3 separate regions of the Homo sapiens genome follow, and all the other regions are linked to region 1. Evidence: promoter capture Hi-C in 16 types of primary human blood cells and fetal thymus (Javierre and others, 2016). All regions are on one chromosome and are shown on one strand. The core of a region is centred on a gene start or on the middle of the fragment in contact, and the rest is flanking DNA. Distances in the headings are between cores, read along the strand shown.

The links. Contacts are between HindIII fragments. The CHiCAGO score rates a contact against its expected background, and 5 or more counts as called.
Region 2: a fragment that was not itself captured here is called in contact with the fragment with the promoter of USP10 in region 1 in 1 of 17 cell types (neutrophils); the score reaches 5.4 in neutrophils.
Region 3: a fragment that was not itself captured here is called in contact with the fragment with the promoter of USP10 in region 1 in 11 of 17 cell types (naive B cells, total B cells, non-activated CD4 T cells and 8 more); the score reaches 9.5 in naive B cells.

What each region holds. Positions count from the first base shown.
Region 1 is chr16:84,697,407-84,701,790 of GRCh38, forward strand. USP10 (ubiquitin specific peptidase 10) reads left to right here and starts at 2,594. Exons shown (of 14, transcript NM_005153.3): 1 at 2,594-2,705. The coding sequence starts at 2,685. RefSeq lists silencers at 2,066-2,585, 2,676-2,895, 2,906-3,015, 3,056-3,165. The HindIII fragment of the contact is 5,859 bases long and covers 1-3,394 here.
Region 2 is chr16:84,939,498-84,943,881 of GRCh38, forward strand. It overlaps LINC02176 (long intergenic non-protein coding RNA 2176), which reads left to right. Exons shown (of 4, transcript XR_933830.2): 3 at 2,362-2,460; 4 at 3,403-3,560. Among named protein-coding and RNA genes, the nearest start is that of LINC02176, 14 kb to the left of the region's middle. The HindIII fragment of the contact is 1,735 bases long and covers 1,000-2,734 here.
Region 3 is chr16:84,516,081-84,520,464 of GRCh38, forward strand. It overlaps LOC124903735 (a long non-coding RNA gene), which reads left to right. Exons shown (of 2, transcript XR_007065148.1): 2 at 2,087-2,250. Among named protein-coding and RNA genes, the nearest start is that of MEAK7, 14 kb to the left of the region's middle. RefSeq lists a silencer at 3,860-3,939. The HindIII fragment of the contact is 2,435 bases long and covers 1,675-4,109 here.

The sequences.
Region 1 (4,384 bases), core at 1,344-3,843:
AGGCCCCCCAGGTAGCTGGGATTACAGGTGCCCGCCACCATGCCCAGCTAATTTTTGTATTTTTAGTAGAGACGGGGTTTCACCATGTTGGCCAGGCTAGTCTCGAACTTTTGACCTCAGGTGATCCACCCGCCTCAGCCTCCCAAAGTGCTGGGATTACAGGCGTGAGCCACCGTGCCTGGCCTGGGATCTTTTGTTTATTATCACTTTTATTTGTTGTTCAAGCAACTGTATGATAAAAATCAGACAAACAACTATATATATATATATATATATATATATATATATATATATATATATATGTTTTTTTTTTTTTTTTTTTTTGAGACAGAGTTTCACTCTTGTTGTCCAGGCTGGAGTGCAATGGTGCCATCTCGGCTCACTGCAACCTCTGCCTCCCGGGTTCAAGCGATTCTTCTGCCTCAGCCTCCTGAGTAGCTGGGATTACAGGCGCCTGCCACCACGCCCGACTAATTTTTGTATTTTTAGTAGAGACGGGGCTTCACCATGTTGATCAGGCTGGTCTTGAACTCCCGACCTCAGGTGATCCACCCACCTCAGCCTTCCAAAGTGCTGAGATTACAGGTGTGAGCCACCGCACCGAGCCAGAGAGACAACCATAAATCACTAGTGAGTTTTCACGTCCCCCAGTTTCTATCCAAGTGCAGATATCGCTTTTCCATGGTTAAAATTATAGCACAGACACTATATTGTATTGTTTTCCCCAATTTTTTGTTATAAAAATTTTCAAACATAGAGAAAAGCTGAAATATATAGCACTACTTAGAGCCAACAATAGTAAACATTTTGCCATATTTGCTGTCTCTCCCTGAATGTTTATGTGTGTACATGATTTTATCTTTTGTTGAACCATTAAACAATAGTTTACAGGCATTATGGCCTTCACTCCTCAACTCTTCAGAATGCATCTCCTCACAATAAGGACATTCTCTCAGTGAGCACAGTATAATTATTACACTATAAAATTACCAATAATTCACGAAGATCACCCATATCCAATCCATATTCAAATGTCTCCAATTGTCAACAAATAGTAAAACCAGCTTAAAAGACATATCAGGATCCAAGCAAGATGACACATTGTATTTGGTTATGTTTTCTAGCTCTTCTATTTTGGAACAACCCCTCCCTACCACTTATATTTTTCTTTTCTTTTCTTTCTTTCTTTCTTTCTTTTTTTTTTTTTGAGACAGAGACTCGCTCTGTCACCCAGGCTGGAGTGCAGTGGCACGATCTCGGCTCACCGCAACCTCCGTCTCCGGGGTTCAAGTGATCCTCCCACCTCAGCCTCCTGAGTAGCTGGGACGCCTGGTGTGCCACACTACATCCCACCAATTTTTGTATTTTTAGTAGAGTTGGGGTTTCATCATATTAGCCAGGCTGGTCTCCAACTCCTGACTTCAAGTGATCCGCCCGCCTCGGCCTCCCAATGTGTGGGATTCCGGGTGTGAGCCGCTGCGCCTGGCCCACTTATATTTTTCATGGCATCCCATTTATGAAGAGACCAGGCTCCCTATTTTATGTAACGTGGGAATGGATCTTCCTGTTCATCTCCTCTGCTCAGTGTACGGTCTAGCAAGAGCAGACTCTCTGTAGGTGTTTGTTGAATAAATGAAACCAATAGTAATGGTTATTAATAACAATCCCAGTAGCCAATTTTTATTGACTATTCTCTTGGCCAGTGTGCTCACGTTAATCTAATTTGAACCTCACAGAAATCTTACGCGTTATGACATATTTGTCTTATTCACAGGTGAGGAAACCAAGGCTTAGGGAAGGAAAGTCGCTTGTCTGAAATCACAGCTAGAAAAGGGGCCAAAACCCAAGGGTGGACCCACTGGCTGGAAAACAGTGCAGTTAGGCAGGGGCCCCTGTTTCTTAATAATGAATGAACCAACGACCCCCAAGGCTGGTTTGCCCGTGCACACGCACGCACGTGTGCAACACGTAGCACTTGCTGAGTGTTTGCTACTTGCCAGGCCTCATGTCAAGCACTTTACGCGTGCTTTTATGCCCTACGTTTTGTTTTTGTCTGTTTTGCTTTTTTCCCCTAATGCCTAGCCAAAGGCGTGGCCCAGGCGCCCAGGCAGGACTTGGGGAGTGAATGAAGAGTGAACAAATGAATGAATGCGCGGCAACGGGATCTTCATAAACCAGACCCTCCTCGGGGATCTAATGCGAACACTCCCGAGGCCCGGGCCCAGGTACGCTGAGGGCGGCTCGTGGGCCCCAGGCCGACCTCAGCCCGCGACTCCCGGGCTCCGGGGGCCCAGGTGGCCCCCAGTAGGTGAGGAGCCGGGCCCGCCGGCGCCTTGGCGTTGCCACCTCTACCTGCCTGCCCTCTCCCCTTCCGGATCCACAGCCAGGCCTCGGCGGGCTCCTGGTGTGCAGCCGCCCGGCCGCTTCCGCCCGAGGGTCGCGGGGCTCAGAGTCCGGCAGGCTCCAGGCGGGGCAGGGGATGTCCGCGGCCCGGCAGGCGCACGCCCACCTGTCGGCCGCGCAGGCGCAGCAGCGGGCCGGCCTCCCCGCGCCCCGCGGCGCGCGGCCAGTGCGCAGGCGCGGCGGCCGATGCGAGTGTGTATGTGCGGGCGAGAAGATGGCGGCGGCGGGGGAAGCAGCGTGAGCAGCCGGAGGATCGCGGAGTCCCAATGAAACGGGCAGCCATGGCCCTCCACAGCCCGCAGGTAGCCGCCGGTCTGCGCCTTCGGCCGGAAGGGGCCCGAGCCCCGGGCGGGCGGACGCCGCGGCGGGCGGGCGTCCGCGCCCTGCCCGGAGCGAGCGTGTGGGAGTGGGGGAGGGCGCTGGGACACGCTGCCCGGGCCTAGGCCGGAGCCACCCGCCGCCTCCGCGCCCGCCGCGCCTTCGTCCCCTGAGCCACCCGGACCCCCTAGTCCCGGGGAGGTCGAAGGGCGGGGGCTCCGGGCCCCGCTTGGGGAGGGCGTGGAGGGCGCCGAAGGGGTTAACCTCCCTGGGGCTGGACCGCGGGGCGAGCCCGGGGTGTGGAGTGGGGCCCTCCCCGCCGCGCCGGCCGGGGGAGGCGGCCCGGGGGCTCCGGGAGTCCCCTGGAGCGCAGGGGCCCCAGAGCAGCTCAGGTTGCTGCCTCTGCCTGGAGCGAGCCTCAGAGATTTGGGGGTGCCCTGTTGCCCCTTTGCCCCAAGAGCTTCCTTTCTCAGCTTGATTGATGATGCGGGGGTTGCCGATTTTCTGTTTTTTAGATAGAAGTAGCAGAGTAGCGGCCTTGGGCTGCTGTTGCAAAGAAAACTCGAAATAAGTCGCAAGGACCGTACTTTCACTTGCGTTTGAGTGACATCCCTTGCACGAATCCATCCCAGCCAGGCTGACAACTAACGCACCCTGCCTGAACAGTAGCTAAAGCTTGGGGGCCCTTTACAATAATCCCGTGGTGGAAAGAAAGAGCTCTTTTTGGGAGATGTGCGTGTAGAGTTAAGCTCTTATTCCCCTCTCCCACCCCTTCTCTCACATCTTCTCCCCCCTCCGCCATTATAATTATTCTGGACAAAAATCGGCATGATGTATTATTTGTCAGCCTTGCTTTAGACTGCTAATTTGTTGACATCTGGTCCCTATAAATTGTTGCACACTTTTAAACCATCTCATTGTGTATTTGTATTAAATATGGGGAAATGAAACAAAGTAGCCATTCGGGAAACTGATTGCGAGTAAAATCATAACCCTTCATGAGCAATTGGGTTTTGTTGCCCTTCTGCAGATGAAGTCAATCTGACTACACCTCTTTTGAAACATGATTTTCGGAACTATTGTAATGAATGCGTGTTGTGGAATCTAAAATGCGAAAACTTTTTAAAAAATTAGATCTTACGACAAGCTTCAATTTTGTTAAATTAGCTGTAGTTTAGTTTGCATCAGAATTTCCCCCTTTAACGTTTTGTTCCCTTATTCATTTACTTTTGTAAGTAGTGTAGGTCTTTGCGCCAAAAAAGGGATCAGTAGTTGAATAATTTTTACAAATGTATAGCCCAAAGATTTTAAGAGATTTGGTGTATTTAGCTTTGTTTAGACCTTTCTGTTAAAAAAAAAGATTTGATATTTGCTTTTTTCTCAACTTAAATCCTAATTAACTAGCTTATTAGAATTGGTATGAACAAGTAAAAGGCTCATTATGAATTAATGTGTAATATTCCTTGTGATTTTGACATGAAGAAAGCATCTTTAGGCATAGCTCACTTCCTTTATTTAATAAGCATCAATCACAATTCAAGGTTGATTGAAATGTTAATTAATGGGGATGGATAATATGTAAACTTAATTGTAATTTCGTTTGCATTCATTGTCCCAGTATTTACGTTTTATACAACAGTCTAAAGCGTTATACACATCTTTA
Region 2 (4,384 bases), core at 617-3,116, 240 kb after region 1:
AGCTCCTGCCACCATGCCCAGCTAATTTTTGTATTTTTAGTAGACATGGGGTTTCACCATGTTGGCCAGGCTGGTCTCAAACTCCTGACCTCAAGTGATTCACCCTCCTCGGCCTCCCAAAGTGCTGGGATTAGAAGTGTTAGCCACCGCACCTGGCCTATTCAAAAAATTCTCTATGGAGCTTCCACCATATACAAGGTATGGACAAGCAGGAACTGAACACACACAGCCCTGCCCACCCGGCGCTGACAGCAGGAGAGACAGACCATGCGACTATCGAAGAAACCAGAGCCAGAAAATAGGTGAGCAGTAAAAGCAGATTTTATTGAGGAACTGTTGAAATGAGAGAAGAGACCTCGGTGTAGACCTGGGCTCTGGTCTGAATACAGCGGTGATGAGTGGGGATGTCACCTGGAGCAGAGGTTCAGTGGATGGAAAATGGCTAAGAGGAGGTCAGGCGCAGTGGTTCATGCCTGTAATGCCAGCACTTTGGGAGGCCGAGGCAGGTGGATCACTGGAGGTCAGGAGTTCAAGACCAGCCTGGCCAACATGGTGAAACCCTGTTTCTACTAAAAATACAAAAATTAGGCAGGCTTGGTGGGACACACCTGTAATCCCAGCTACTTGGGAGGTTGAGGCAGGAGAATCGCTTGAACCTGGGAGGCGGAGGTTGCAGTGAGCTGAGATCGCGCCACTGTGCTCCAGCCAAGGTGATAGCGCGAGACTCCGTCTCAAAAAAAGAAAATGACTAAGAGGAAGCATTAGGTGTGGGGGGAAGTTCTGGCTAAACCGATGGAACAGGACTCTCGCCGAAGGCAGGCCAGGTGAACAGACACCCCCGAGGGGCAGTGCCAGGCGAGGAACTGCTCACGCGTCGGGGGTCGGGGAGTTTTCCTAATTGACTCTGGGTTCTTGCTAAAACTGGAAAAAGCCAAGACAAGTGCAGAAGCCCCCAGGCCAAGGCCTCCTGGAGAAGAGGGTTTGGAGGAGCCTGACCAAAGCTTGATCGAGGAGAGGGTCTTTGTCATGATTACTGGGGGCTCTGACCCCGTTTAGGAAGACGGGGACTGTGCCCATGAGATCTGAAGGGGGAAGGGCGTTCTTGAGGCAAGAAGGCTGGGGTGGAATTCCAGACAAAGGCAACAGCACAGGGGCAGGGTGAGTCCAGGTCTGGAGAGATGGCCTGCGGCGAGGCCCCATGCATCCCAGGGAAGGTTCCGGAACACCCTGCACACGCACAGTCTCCACCATCCTCTCTAGGCCTGGCCTCGCATCAGACAGGGCCCTTGTGAGAGCTGCCTCAAATGTGACATTTCCACCAGAGCCCCGGCCCCCGTGCCCGCCTTGCCAGCCTCGGCCTGTGGGGGCTGCCACTCTCCACAGGTCCTCGTCCCTGTCGGCCGAGGGCAGCATTCCCGCAGCGGGGAACGATCAGCAGAGATTGGGAAATAGGGTAACTTGTTCCAGATGTCCGGAGCAAATCCAGGCCTGGCTTCTCTAAGGGACTGTTTGGCTTTCTGAAGTTTACAAACAGCAGGATGAGAGGCCCCTCCTGAGAGGCGGCCAGGACCCCCCGTGTGTGATCATGTGCGTGAGGGGGGCTCAGGGCTGCGGAATGCCATCCAGTGTCACCTGAAGTCCACACACACAGCCTGGGGCCCACGTCCACGCTTCCCCACCCAGGGATGCCGGCCTTGGGAAACCCCCTGTAGGACCAGCTGCCCCCGGCCTCTGGAGGCGTTTGGCAGGTGGGAGGTGTCTGCAAGAGACTGGAGAGGGCTGGAGGAGCTGAGTCGCATCCACTCCCCCAATTCCCTCTCTGCAGGGCCGCATGGGCCAGCTGCGTCCCGTGTCCCCAACCTTACCCTCGGGCCTCAGTGCTGGGCGCTCCTGCCGTTGCCGGCCCTGGTGCTGCCCGTGCGCCGCCTGCGGTGTCCCGGAGCCCACGCATCCCTGCACCTTTGAGCACAGTCCTTTTCCTGAGCGCTCCCTAAATTATCCCAACTCAAGTGTGACTTCGGGGCCTGCTCTTCCCAACCCCCTTCCCCAGTAAGTGGCTTTTGCCTGTGCCTTGATGAACACCTGAAGCGAGACCCAGAGACGCTCAACTCCCCGACAGCCCTGGTTCCAAACCGGAGCTGCAGCAGTTGCTGAGCGCGGCTCCTTCACGCCTTCCTGCCGTGAGCGTTCCTCACCGCCGAGGCTTCCTCCTCCTGCTCCCAAACCGTGTCCACTTTTAGGAGGGGACTTTCTAGAACGTGCTTCCGAACGGTACCTATGTGATGAGGGGCTGAGCATGAAATAAAGACAAGGGCATGAGTGTAGAGGCCAGGCAGACCTGACTCGCCCCTCACTCCCCAGGACCCGGACCTCTCTGGATCTGCATCCTCCCCCTAGTAAAATGGGAGACACACCGCTATCCAGACAACTGGGATTCCTGGACCAGACTTTTCTTTTGAGGTGAGCACACCCGCCCCGCAACCCAGATGGACTAGGGTGACCTTCTCCCCACCCCACTCGCACCTCAACAGGCACATTTCCCCATCTGCCCTTGGGCTGAGTGACACAGTGGCTGGGCCAGGGATGGTTTGACACCGCAGGACATGTCAGCGTATTTTTCCAACATACTCTCCGCCTGACTCATTCAGTGGGAGACACTCACATGAGCTCCCCGCCCGAGAGGCCCTCTGGCACCGCAGACCCAACACATAAACAGGTCCTCTCTCCTTCCAGAAGCTTCTGGAGCCCATTGTGCTTTAGATTCATCCACCCTTCCTCCAGACGCTGGGCATCTCTCTCCTCTCCTCTCCTGCTGACCCCACCATTCGGATGGCGCCTGTCACCCTAACTGTCTGCACACCCCAGGTTCCTCCCCACCCCACCCCTCTGCCCTCCTTTTTGTCTGATTTGCCAACTGGTCCTCCTGGTTCTGCCTTGTCCACTGTGGTGTTTTGTTTTTAGGGTTTTAAAACTAATTTATTTAGGTGAAATCATATAACATAAAAATAACCATTTTAAAGTGATCAATTAATTGGCATTTGGTACTTTTTTTTTTTTTTTTTTTGCAGCCTCAACCTCTTAGGCTCAAGCAATCCTCCCACCTCGGCCTCCTAAGTAGCTGGGATTATAGACACATGCCACCACGCTTGGCTGACATTTTGTAGAGACAGGGTTTTGCCATGCGTCCCTGGCTGGTCTTGAACTCTTGGGTTCAAGACATCTGCCCGCCTTGGCCTCCCAAAGCACCAGGATTACAGGCATGAGCTACTGCCCCCAGCAGCATTCAGTACATTTACAGTTTTGTACAACCAGCACCCCTATCTAGCTCCAAAACACTTCCCTCATCCCACAGTGAAACCCCAAACCCATTAAGCAGTTTCTCCTAATTTCTGTCTCCCCCAGCTCCTGGCAGCCTCCAGTCAGCTTTCTGTCTCTATGGACTGGCCTGTCCTAGACATTCCTTATCAATGGAGTCACACAGTATGTGGTCATTTCGTCTGGCTTCTTTCACTTAGCACCATGGCATCAGGGTTCATCCACATTGTATAACCTGGATCGGTGTTTCATCCCTTTTTTTTTTTTTTTTTTTTTAATTTATTTTGAGATGGAGTCTCACTCTGATGCCCAGGCTGGAGTACAATGGTGCGATCTTGGCTCACTGCAACCTCTGCCTCCCAGGTTCAAGCGATTCTCCTGCCTTAGCCTCCTGAGTAGCTGGGATTACAGGTGCCCGCCACCACACCTGGCTAATTTTTGTATTTTTAGTAGATGGGGTTTCGCCATGTCAGCCAGGCTGGTTTTGAACTCCTGACCTCAAGTGATCTGCCCACCTCAGCCTCCCAAAGTGCTGGGATTGCAGGCTTGAGCCACCACACCCGCCTGTTTCATCCCTTTTTATGGCTGAATAATATTCCGTCACACAGACCACAGTTGTTTATCCATTCATCTGTTGGCGGACTCTTGAGTTCTGTTCACCTTCTCGCTGTGGTGAATAGTGCTATGAACAGGTAAGTGTTTGATACCTGCTTTCAATTCTTCTGGGCCTATACCTGGGAGCAGCATTGTAGGGTCATAGAGTAACTATGTTTAACTTTTTGAGGAATGCACTGTAGCAGTTTATCTTTTGTATTTTGTTTTTTAGAGACAGGGTCTTGCTCTGTCGCCCAGGCTGGAGTGCAGTGGTGTGATCATAGCTCACTGCAGCCTCGACCTCTTGTTTTTGTAGAGACAAGGGTCTTGCTATGTTGCCCAGGCTGATCTTGAACTTTTGGCCCTCAAGTCATCCTCCCACCTCTGCCTCCCAAAGTGCTGGGGTTACAGGAGTGAGTCATTACACTCAGCCCACTGTGGCAGTTTTAAAATATGTTCTCACGTTCTTTGACCT
Region 3 (4,384 bases), core at 1,642-4,141, 180 kb before region 1:
AATCGCTTGAGCCCAAGAGGTTGAGGTTGCAGTGAGCCGAGACTGCACCACTGCACTCTAGCCTGGGCAACAGAGTAAGACTCCATCTCAAAAAAATAAACTACTATTTAGAAATAATTATAGATTCAACAGAAAGTTGCAAAGACAGTGCACAGAGGTCCAATATACCCTGCACCAAGTTTCCCTGTGGTTCTAACTCACCTAATCCAAACTGGGAAAGAGACATTGATGCAATCAATGTGTGTGTCCAATTCTGTCATTTCCCCACGAGGGTAGTAGAGTCGTGTGACCATCACTACAAAACACAACTATTCCATCTATGCTGAAGATACAGAAGTGTTCCATCACCACGATGATCTCTTCCATGTTGCCCCAAAATAATTGTGAAATAGAAATTCCATGTAGAAATAGTATTTTGGCTATATTAGGTTCAAAGCATATTAATGTTACCATTTCTCGTTTTAAAACATGAACAATGAAAACCTTAGAATCGCACACAGGGCTTGTGTTCTACCTCCATTGTCTGTATTTGGATGTTGGACAGCACCGGCTCCGAAGTTCAGACCACAGCTCGGTTGCTTTGGATGGGTTAATTAACCTCCCTGAGCTAGGCTCCGTGGGAGTAGACCAGACCTGTAAGAGTCACTGTTCGGCACACTTGAGTGCCTATGTGCTGGGCATCACGTAAAGGCAGGGGACACAGGAGGCAGCGAGAGAGACCATGTCCTCCAGAGGGAGAGGAGATGCCCTGTAAAGGCTCACACACGGGCTAGTAGTGAGAAGGGTCAGTCCACAAGCACCGCCAGGTAGAGTTGGGACCCAGAAGGGGTTAAATAAAAACAGCAAGGGAGAGGACTTAAGAACATGGCACAGACTCCCCCACACACAGTAAGGAAAAGAAACGCATGCACTGTCAGCAAATAAACAGCAGAAACAAAGAATTTTTTTTTTTTTTTTTTTTGAGATGGAGTCTTACTCTGTCGCCCAGGCTGGAGTGCAATGGCGCGATCTCGGCTCACTGCAACCTCCACCTCCCAGGTTCAAGCAATTCTCCTGCCTCAGCCTCCCAAGTAGCTGGGATGACCAGGGTCCACCACCGCACCCACCTAATTTTTGTATTTTTAGTAGAGATGGGGTTTCATCATGTTGGCCAGGCTGGTCTCGAACTCCTGACCTCAGGTGATCTGCCCACCTCGGCCTCCCAAAGTGCTGGGATTACAGGCATGAGCCACGGCACCCAGCCAGAATGTTGCTTAGAAACCCAAATTGTCCCTGTTGCCCCAGAGCAGGTAAACCATACTGGGGGACCCCAGAATCCCAGCTCTTCCCGGGTGCCTCCCAGTACCCAGAAGGCAACAGGAAGAAGCGACTGCGGTTGAAAATAATAAAAATACTGCTACATGCAGGCCCTGTTCCCCTAGAGAACTCGACCGCCAGCTGGGAACTGATACCAGGCCCCACGAGACCCATCCCCCAGGGCCCGTCCCAGAGATACTCAGCCCCAGGCGCTGGAAAGCTTTTCCAAAGAGATTATGAAAAACGTCTAATATGCGGAAAACCAGACTAAAAAAACAAGCCCTCTTTATACCCACCACCCAGACTCAGCCATTGCTAACATTCTGCCCTTTCCTACTGTTCGTTGGAATGTTCGAAGTGGGTCAATTCTGACATTTAAGCTTTCAACATATTTGACGCATTTTTTAAAAAATGATGCCGTTGTACTAACCACAGAACTGTCAATGCATCTAACAACATTAACAATCATTTTGTCATAGAACCTGAGCGTCAATTGCTGGACTCTGGTTGGTAATGCAGAGTCTCCCGGCTTTACCCCAGACCTCCTGAATCAGAATCCGCACCTTCACAAGGTCTGAGTACTTCATGTACTCATGATGGTTGGAGGAACAAACTATTTTTTTGGAGACAGGGTCTCGCTGTCATTGAGGCTGGAGTGCAGTGGTGCAATCATAGCTCACTGCAGCCTCCACTTCCTGGGCTCAAGTGATCCTCCCGCGTCAGCCTCTCGAGTAGCTGGGACTACAGGCACATGCCACTACACCTGGCTGATTTTTATTTTATTTTCCAGGGTCTTGCCAAGTTGCCCAGGCTGGTCTGGAACTCCTGGACTCAAGTGATCCACCCACCTCAGCCTCCCAAAGTGCTGGGATTATAGGTGTGAGCTGCTCCGCCCAGCCCAGAAGCAAACCTTATATTCAGTCTCATTGGATTAAATTCTATCCCTCCACAAAATTCATGTGTTAAAGTCTTTCTCCCAGTGCCCCAGGATATGACTATGTGACTTATTTGAAAATAGAGTCATTGCAGATGGAATTAGTTAAGATGAGGTCACAGCAGGGTACTGGGCCTATGATCTAGTGTGACTGGTATTTTTTTTTTTTTTTTTTGAGGTGGAGTCTCACTCTGTTGCCCAGGCTGGAGTGCAGTGGTGAGATCTCGGTTCACTGCAGCCTCTGCCTCCCAGATTCAAGCGATTCTCCTGCCTTAGCCTCCTGAGTAGCTGGGATTACAGGCATACACCACCACGCCTGGCTAATTTTTTTTTTTTTTTTTTTGTATATTTTTAATAGAGCTGGGGTTTTGCCATGTTGGCCAGGCTGGTCTTGAACTCCTGACCTCAGGTGATCCACCCGCCCTGGCCTCCTAAAGTGCTAGGATTATAGGCAGGAGCCACCATGCATGGCCTTTTTTTCTTTTTCATTGGACAGAGACAGCCATGCACGGAGGGAAGGTATTGTGAAGAGTCACACAGGAAGACAGCGTCCACAGGCCTCGAGATGCACCAGCCCTGCTGACACCTTGACTTTGGGTTTGTGGCATCCAGAGCTGTGAGGAAGTCGATTTCTGGTGATTTTAACCCCCTGCCCGCAGTTTGTGGTACAGCAGACCTAGGAAATGAATCCACAGTCCCTATCCAAAGTTCACCTGTGGTTTTCTTAAAAATACCCATGGCGGAGCCCACACTAACGATTCCGATGTCCCAGGTCTGGGCGGGGCTCAGGTGTGGGTGCTTTTAAAACTGAGACTACACTGCAGGCAAGGCCAGCGTGGAGTCACGAAGCTGCTCTCCTGGTTAACCAGGAAACAGCAGCCAGGTGGTGTAGGGCGCCTGAGGACAGTCACTGAAGTGTACCTGAGAAGGTGGGGATGACCCTGGATGGCAGATGCACGCGGATGCATGTTCCGAGCTAGGGAATCTGGGTTGGCCAACCCCGAGATCCGTTCCTTGTCTATGAGACACATCTGAGCCTCAGTTCCCTCTCCCCCACCCCAACCCCAGCCTGGCCCGTGGAACACGAGCTGTACAGGAGGTTGAGGCCCTGAGTTTTTGGTTAAATGCAGGTTGCCAGGTGGAGGCCGTTAGGGGGAGGGGGTTAAATGAAAATGCTGGGTAAACTGCACGATGTTTGCAGACGGCCGTGGCTCTCCTGTGCAGCCCGCTCTCCCCTGTCCGTACGCCGCAGTAAAACCTGTGTCTCGTTCACTGTCTCTGAGTCTCTTCGTTGGCCTCTTGAACCTGGTGCCTTCCCTATTGAGGTTAATAGGGGTTTCGGCACAAAGGATGGACCCTCATCTGCCGCCTGCTGTTTTGCGGGGAAAGGGTAGTAAGTTATTTGGAGAGAGAAATACCCAACACCAGGGCTGGAACCCCGGCAGCTCTGGTCCTCAGTGTGGGTTTTGACTCACAGCAGCCCCTTAGGAACTTGTTAAACTACAAAAATCCTCAAGCCGCACACACAGCTCTTGGGTCAGAGATTCCTGGAGTGGGCTGCTGACTGCATTTTGAGGAGCCGTCCTGGGGGCTCCGATGCAGGCTTGAGAGTGAGAACCCGGACGAGAAGACGTGCAGGCCCCACGCTGTGTGCACTCAGGCAGCCCCCGGACCAACCCACAGGGGTTTCAGTGTGATCAGCTCTGTCTACAACAAGGTGTAAAGAAACAAAATCCCACAACCACAGCCCCTGACCTGGGAGTTTCCTTCATCATCCGCAAACACAGTAACATTTTCAAAAAGTCCTAAAGACTTAAGAAAAAGGCAACTTCCTCTCCACCTCCTCCAGACCTGCTCCCTGGAGGCAACCGCCACGAGAAGCTTCCCGTGGATTTTCCCAAAGTTCTAGAGGTGCATATTCACCTCCACCTACAGCCTTTAAACATGGACACACGGGAAGCAGACGACTGTCTTACTCCTTGACTTTTTTCTCGTTTAACAATATATTAGGAGCTCACGCCAATCTACGTTTTCCTAACCTGCCACTGTCTAAGTCGATAATAATTTATTGAGCCAATTCCCGTTGAGAGGCACTTCAGTTGCTCCGTCTTTTGCTTTTATGTACAACACTTGTTTAACATCCTAGTATGCACA